2 separate regions of the Homo sapiens genome follow, and region 2 is linked to region 1. Evidence: promoter capture Hi-C in 16 types of primary human blood cells and fetal thymus (Javierre and others, 2016). All regions are on one chromosome and are shown on one strand. Each heading gives the region's core, a stretch centred on a gene start or on the middle of the fragment in contact. The rest is flanking DNA. Distances are from core to core; before and after follow the strand shown.

Region 1 (3,754 bases), core at 454-2,953:
ACGATGGCTGTCAGTAGGATCACATCCTTAAGGTGCCTGTGGATAGAAATAAAGCTGGAAAGACAGCATATGGGCCCTTCCACCCTTTTCAAGTTGCAACTCCCTTCCACCCTTTTCAAGTTACAAGTAGCTGTGCTTCTTGGGCTATCTGGGCCCCAGCCCTGGGGCCGCTCACCTGGGCTGGCGGTGGGGGACACTCACTCTGCCATGCCCTGCTCCATGTTGAGGTCCATGCCACCATCCATCAGGGCCCCATCCTCAGAGAACGCTGCTCGTGCCATCGAGCTCATAGAGTGGTAGCTGGCCCCATACACTGCCAGACTAAAGCCCAGGGCCAACTGCAGAGCAAGAATGAGGGTATCAAAGGCCAGCCACTGACCCTACGCACTCATCCACCTCCCAGGATGGAGATACTTACCCAGGCCCAAAATGAGGCAGATGAGTAAAAGAAGACCAACGTCACAAGGCAGTAAATGGCCTGCAAGCAATCACAGGATCAGGTTGGGGTCAGAAGTTACCTCCAAACCATGGGTCTCCCTCAACTCTGACCAAGAATTAGGCCAGGCTGTGGGAGGAGCAAGGTTGTTCTTACAGGGTTGAAGAAAGGGCCCTGCTCCCTGAATCCCAAATACCCACTCTCCTCTGACACCCAACTCAGCCCAGGAAAGAAGCCTTTGTGTACTTGGAGGTAGGAAGAGCTCTCAAATTCAGCTACGACTCACGCCTTCATTTTCTTTGTGTTTTACTAGTTAGCACTTTCTCTGTGCCCAGATCTCTCATTTCTTTTTGACTGGAGCTCTCTTCTAGAGCTTTTTCGGGTACCACTCCTCGTCACCAAGCAGGGCTGAGGACTAGGGAACTGACTATAAGTGGGCATAGAAGCAAGGAGGTAGGCACTTACATTGGCCCCCAGTATGATCCGCAGGTAGAACTTCAGAGTCTCTCTGTTCTCTTCAAATATCTGCTTCTTCCCTCTCGTGCCCACTTTGCCCTTGGGCTGCAGAGGAATGATGAGATGCCGTCAGGAGGCCACGGTCCTCCTCATTCTCCCCACCAGCCTGGTGAGCTATAGAGCTCCATCCGCAACTCAGCCAGGTCCCCGTAGTGCAGAAACCTAGCAAAATCCCTGGGATGTCCACCCATCCTCCAGTCCATTCTGCCTAGGGCTGACGCCATCTCTCCAGCACCCGCAGCTAGGATCAATCGCCTCTTGCTCGCCCTGGAACAATTCAATCCTAAGCTAATACCGCCTCTGGATCCCGTGGTAGTCTGGCTTTAGGCTAACGACTCTTCCAAGGGTACTCCTGAGCGGAGTTGAATGGTGCCTCTCTCAGGCCTCCGCTGGCGTAGTCCCGATCTGGGTTAACCCCCACCTCAGGTCACTTAGATCTCTGGCCTGCCCTGGTACTGATGCCCACCCCGCTCTGGCACTAGTCCTGGTATGGTCCTGCGCCGCCATCCCCCCAGCCCAGCTCTAGCACGGTCTGGCCAGGGATGGCGCCCCGCTCTGGCCCACCCCATATCCCTTAATGTTCTTTCTCAGTTTTCACTCTCACAGCCCCTGGAGAGCTTTGCTGGTGCGGACCCCGCCCTATCCATCCTCCTTACCGCCATGGTGCGAGGCAAATACCCAGCCCGGGAAACACGGGAGAGCGACCGAAACCGCAATCACTAAGCACCACATCGGCAGCTCATGCACTTCCGGCGCAGACCGAAGTCGTCAGCTTTTGCGACGGAAATAGGTCTCACTTCCTTCCCAAGCCCCGCCCCAAAGAGGCGAGACTACATTTCCCAGAAAGCCTTGCGCAGTGGGGGCGGAGGCGGCAGGGATGCGATGGCGGAGTCGCTGCCCCTGGAGGTGAGAGGAAGCCGCCCTCAGGCCTAGCTCTGGACAGGCCCCGCCCTCGCGGTCCTGAGCTTTGGGGAGGGGCTGTCAGATAGCTAGCCCGGCCCCTCCAGCCTGGCGGAAACGACCCGCCCTCCCGATCCCGGGACCTTCTAGCTCTGGGTAACGGTTCCTCCTTTGGGCCACTCTGTCCCTTTAGCTTGGGGGACCGTCCTCCCCTTCCCTATCGGCCCCAGAAGATAGCTGCCCTGTCATCTCCGCGAGAACAGGCCCTCTGCCCATCCCCTTCCCTTGAAGTGGCTGTCTCCTCCCCGCTCAGTTCTGGAAGATGTCCGCTCCATCTCATCGTCCCGAAGGGTAACTGATCTTATCCCCATTGGTCCCTTGGGATGATCTCTCCATTTCCTACAGAGACGGCCGCCCCTTCTCCCTGGCAGTGGGAAACAGACTGCTCCCTCCCCATCAACTGCAATGATCTCTGAGTTCCTTTAACAAGGATAGGCCTGTTCCCCATTCCTAGGCCCCTAGTGATGGCCGCCCTTACCTCTTTCACTCCGTGGGATGTTTGCTCCTTCCCCTTAGCCAGGGGCAAGACCACTCTGCCCCATCTGCCAGGGAGATAACAGGTTTTGTCTTCAGTGGCCTGTTGGAATGGCTTCTCCATCTCTTTTGTCCTGAGGGTTGGCAGCCCCCTCTCTCTGCCCATGGGAAACAGGCCACCCTTTCCCATCGGTCCTGGAATGATGCTCCTGTCCTTAGCAAAAATAGGCCTGTTCCCACCCCTATTGAGCTTGCAGTGCTATCCCTTTCCCCCTTAGCTTTAGGGGCTATCTATTTCCATCCCCATAGACCCCATGAGTGACCAATCATTATCTCCAGTAGCCCCCTTGAGATGGGACTCATGGGATGGTCACTCCATCCTCATCACTGCCTCCTCTTGTCCCTCTAGAAAGGCCACCCTCTTCTTAGGTCAATGAATTGTGTCCCTTCCCGACTCACCCCAAGGGATGACAGGTTTGTTCCCCTCTCCCTTTGCTCTTGGGCTGGCTGCTTAGCCCCAGAAGACAGGATGGCCACTGTCTTAACTCAGCTCAAACAGGCTTCCGTGCCTCCCTGGAGGGATTGGGACTTGGTCAGTCCCAGTCCCCATCAATACTGTCTTCCCTATGCCTCCCTTCCTGGCCCAGAAGTCTATTCTGCCAGTCATTGTCCTCTCAGTAATGACTGCTTTATTTCCCCGACCCCTTCCCTGAGCATACTCTTGGTGAAAATAGAGGTAGAGGACTGGACTGTCCAACCTTAATTTAATCCAGTAAGCACTGGCTGAGCACTGTGCCTGCGTGCTTGGCATCTGAGAAAGGAAGGAGAGATCACAATGGGTTGGTGAAGTTAAGCTTCAAGAAGGGGATCCCAGGGAAAAGGCCCGCATAGGCAAAAGGAAATAGACATGCTGTGTGCGTAGGGCAATGGGGAGACTGGACTGGGGAAGTTTGGGGACCAGCGAGTCCAATCAGGCACAGAGGCCTGGCAGTGCTGATCCAGGAGTGGAGACTGTCCTGAGAGTACTGTGAACCCTGAAGTTTTACAGCAGGGGTGAGCTGAAACTGAAAACTGTTTTATAGGAAAAATTAACCTTGTGACAGTGTGCATAATGTATTAGCAAGGATGAACTTGGAGGCAAAGAGTTCAGGTGGGAGATTGTGGAAGGAATCCAGGTTTGGGGTGGTAGAAATCTGAGCTACTGAGGTGGGGAAGTTGCAGAGGTAGAAATTTTAGTAACAGCAATCCAGCAACCATTTATGGAACATCTAGTTGTCACACACACACTATATATATGTAAAATTTAATCCCCATGAGGCTATGATCTAGATTTTTTTAAAGTATCCCTATTTTATAGATATGGAAACT
Region 2 (3,754 bases), core at 785-3,284, 260 kb after region 1:
TCTCACTTATCAAATGGGAGTAACGGGAGTGCTCCGTTCACAAGGCTGTAGTGTTGATGCTGGGGTGGCAGGTACTGGCTGGGGCAGGGCCTTGAAGGGCACAGGGGTGGGAGCAACTCACCCTGGGGATGAGCCAGCTGAACTCATGGTTGTTGACACCCATGAGGAAGGGCACAGAGTGGAAGGGCTTCTCCTTCAGGAGTTCCTTGGGGCTTTTGGGGAAGACAGTGCCATCAACGGTGAGAGGATAGATAGTATTTTTCTGCAGGAGAAAGCAATGCAGGAGGCTCCCAAGTTAGGGCCAAGCCTCAAAGGCTAGGACCCCAGCAGCCACTGAGCTGCAGGCCTGAGTGTCTGAGCCTGGAGGGAAAGTGAAGGGATGAAGATCACCAGGGTTAAGGGGGTCGGGGGAACCAGGAGATCAGGGCAACAGATGCGTCCAGTTTCTTTCCTAGAAGACAGGCCTGCTGTGGGGATGGAGATGGCCCTCCATTTCTGTCTCCAAGCCCTCAGCCCCTTCCCCTCATGAGCTGCTGTCCCCAGCCCCACCTGGGGGTAGACTGCCCCTCTGCTCCTGCAGGGGATGGATAGAACCCCCTCTGTGCCATTGCCCGGCACCATCCCCAAAAGGGTGGCCATACCAGCTTCTTGCTAAGGACCAGCTCTTCTCCTTCTTTCTGCTGAAGGCACTGCACCATCTCAGCCGGGGAGCTGGAGCTGCAGGCCAAGGTGTTTGCGATTTTCTGGGGACAAATGAAAGAGTCATGCCTCCCTCTCAGCCACTCAGCCCCACCTTGCAGCCTTCTGCCTCCCACAGAGAGGGTGCATCTGTAGGACAGCTGGATGTGATGTCACAGATCGGCCTCGAGACTGGTCACAGACTTGTCACCACTCCTGAGAAGCCTGCCCTGCCCGTCAGCTTGGGTGGTCCCAAGGGCCCCCTTGCGTCCCCTATTATACCATAATTTTATTATCTGGGGGAATGGGGGCACTGAGTCCTCATTGCCCTCTAAGAATAGTGTCATTATCTTTTATTATTATTTTTTTGAGACAGACTCTCGCTCTGTCGCCCAGGCTGGAGTGCAGTGGCATGATCTTGGCTCACCGCAAGCTCTGCGTCCCGGGTTCACACCATTCTTCTGCCTCAGCCTCCTGAGTAGCTGGGACTACAGGCACCTGCCACCATGCCCGGCTAATTTTTTGTATTTTTAGTAGAGATGGGGTTTCACCATGTTAGCCAGGATCACCTTGATCTCCTGACTTTGTGATCCGCCAACCTCAGCCTTGAGCTGTGTTTTTCTTTGGACACAGGAGAGACAGGGAATGACCTCAAGTCTGTGGTTGAGAAAATCTCTCCTGGCCATGGGGAGAGGATGGGATGGGGAGGTTGAGAGGAGGATGCTGTTGTCCATACAAGAGTCAACATGCCCACGCAGAGGTTCCAGAATCATCTTGTACACAGTGGTTAAAATGCCCAGCCCACACTGCCTTGGCCACCATCTGGGGCCAGGTGAGGGAATTGACCCAGTCTTCCAAATCCTGCTCACATTTGCCCCCTCTCTCCCCGATGGCTCTATCCCTATTCCATCCTGTCTCTTTCTCCTGGACTCTGCCCTGGTCATTTCACTGGTGTCTTGATCTTCAGGACGGCTCCCTCCAACCCACCTTCTACTCCAGGTAGCTCAACCTTGTCATTGCCCAACTTCTTCCTGCCCTCTGGAGAAAGTCCAGATTCCCAGGCATGGCCCCCACTTCTCCAGCACCTTCACTTCCTGCCCTGTTCCCTAACCTGCGAGCTTGCTCCTGCAGGACCTGTCACTCTCTCCCACACCTGCAGCCTTTGCAGATGCAGTTCCCACTGTGGCTTCCCCTGGATTTTCTTCACAAGGCCTTACAATGAGGATCTAGGGTGGGGATCTGGAGCCTGAATGGAGAGCTCGCAGGCAGCAGGTGGCTGGCAATGGAGACCCCCTCCACCATGCTGCCTGGGGCAGAGAGGGGTGCTCCTGAAGACCCCACCCTGGAGAAAGGGCCAACAATGATATGCTTCAGGGTGGCTTCCTTCAGGAAGCCCTCCCTGAGTGCCAATATGCTGGAATGCAGCAGTTGTTTCCTCTGATGCTCCTTCGTCTTATTGGGCTTCTCTTTGCTAACAGGGAGCTCCCTGCCAGCAAACCCCGCTACTCTGAGACCCCAGGGCCAGCACAGAGTGGGGTATGGGAGGCACACATAGAGTAAGAGAGGGAAGGAAATACAGACCTGAGCTAGGGGCCAAGGGTGAGAGTCGATGATCCCTGGGGTGGTGATGACCCCACTCTGTGTGATGGCTCTGTGGAACAGCCCTGCAGCCACTGGGGACAGGACCTGGGTGCATTGGAGAGAGGAGGTGGCTGTCAGAGGAGGGCAGAGGAGCTGGGAGTTCTGAGACCACCGGAGCCCTCCTGGCCACCATCACTAGCCCCCTATAGTGACTTACCAGGCCAGAGATGATGCTCCCACCGGCAGATCCACCAAAGACAGTGACACAGTTGAGGTCACCCCCGAAGGGGGCGATGTTTTCTTGCACCCAGCGCAAAGCAGCTACCACATCTAGGAAGCCCTGGTTGCCAGGTGCATGCTCATCTCCAGTGCTGGGGGCAGTGTTGGGGCAACGGTTAGTTCAGCCTGGCTCCTCGCCAGCCTCTGCAGGTTTGCTTTGAATTAGCCACCAGGATGCCAGACCCTTCTCTGCTCCCCAGGTCTGGCCTGTCTGGGAGCCGTGGTTGGCATCTCCACAGCCTGTTGCTCTTTGTCCCATATCCTGCTGGAACCTGGGCTTCAGCCCAGGAATCAATGCCCTCTGCCCAAGGGACCAAGTTCACTGTATAATTCTGGCTTTGGCTGGACCCCTCTCCCAGGGTGGAGGCTTGGGGGGTGCCCTTCTCTGCCTCAGACATCATGGGTAAGGGGCCCTCCCTTCAGGTTCCGGACCCCAACCTAGATCCCCAGTTGCTCTGGTGAGCTGGCCTCTCCCCGGTGCAGGCAGTGCTCTGGCCATGCCTGTCGTCTCACCTGAAGAAGCCAAGGACCCCAAGGCGGTACTGGACTGTAACCACGACCACATCCCCATAGGCAGCCAGAGCTGATCCATCGTAGGAGGTGGCAGCGCCAGTTATCAGAGCGCCTCCATGGACCCATACCATGACCTGCAGAGGTGGCCATGGGGCACTGACCCCCAAGCTCCTGAGACCTTAGCTGCCCACCTGCCAGCCCAGGCAGTCTCAGGACCGCTAGGGTGCTTTGGAAACAGGGACGGGGAGGGGACAGGTAGGCATAGTGGAGCTGGATCAGGTGGACAGGGCCCTCTGGGGTGCCTACCGGCCTACCGGACCCTGCGGGGACCTCAGCTGGGCTATAGACGTTGAGGACCAGGCAGTCCTCTGAAACGGAGAAGATCTGCTGTTTTCCGTTGAGGACAAATCTGCTGCTGTTCATGCTCTCCACGTCTTGTAGGCACCTGTGGCCAAGGGTGGGCCTGAGGTCCAGCTGTTCAGCCCCACAAGCCCCAGCAGCAGGATTCTCCTGCAACCTGCCTGTTTGCCCGCCTCCACCAGCACTACTCACATTGGGGGCGCAGTGCTGGCATCCCGCACACCCTCCCAGGGCTGTGCTGGGTGTGGGGCTGAGAACCGGTCAGGGCCCAGTGGCGGCTGGGCAAATGGAATGCCCAGAAAGACATTCACAAGGCGGTCTGTGCCCTTCACGCCCACCTGCC

The links. Contacts are between HindIII fragments. The CHiCAGO score rates a contact against its expected background, and 5 or more counts as called.
Region 2: a contact is called between a fragment that was not itself captured here and the fragment with the promoter of TMEM208 in region 1, in 11 of 17 cell types (M2 macrophages, naive CD4 T cells, activated CD4 T cells and 8 more). The highest score is 9.4, in M2 macrophages.

The regions. Positions count from the first base shown.
Region 1 is chr16:67,225,079-67,228,832 of GRCh38, reverse strand. It overlaps TMEM208 (transmembrane protein 208), which reads right to left and starts at 1,703. Exons shown (of 6, transcript NM_014187.4): 1 at 1,609-1,703; 2 at 902-997; 3 at 419-478; 4 at 202-338; 5 at 1-36. The coding sequence starts at 1,614. It also overlaps the pseudogene FBXL9P. RefSeq lists an enhancer at 1,551-1,900. The HindIII fragment of the contact is 11,037 bases long and covers 1-3,242 here.
Region 2 is chr16:66,963,233-66,966,986 of GRCh38, reverse strand. CES3 (carboxylesterase 3) reads right to left here. Exons shown (of 13, transcript NM_024922.6): 2 at 3,604-3,754; 3 at 3,358-3,496; 4 at 3,052-3,185; 5 at 2,477-2,630; 6 at 2,260-2,364; 7 at 642-743; 8 at 122-262. Among named protein-coding and RNA genes, the nearest start is that of CES3, 3.8 kb to the right of the region's middle. RefSeq lists an enhancer at 2,332-3,249. The HindIII fragment of the contact is 7,346 bases long and covers 1-3,754 here.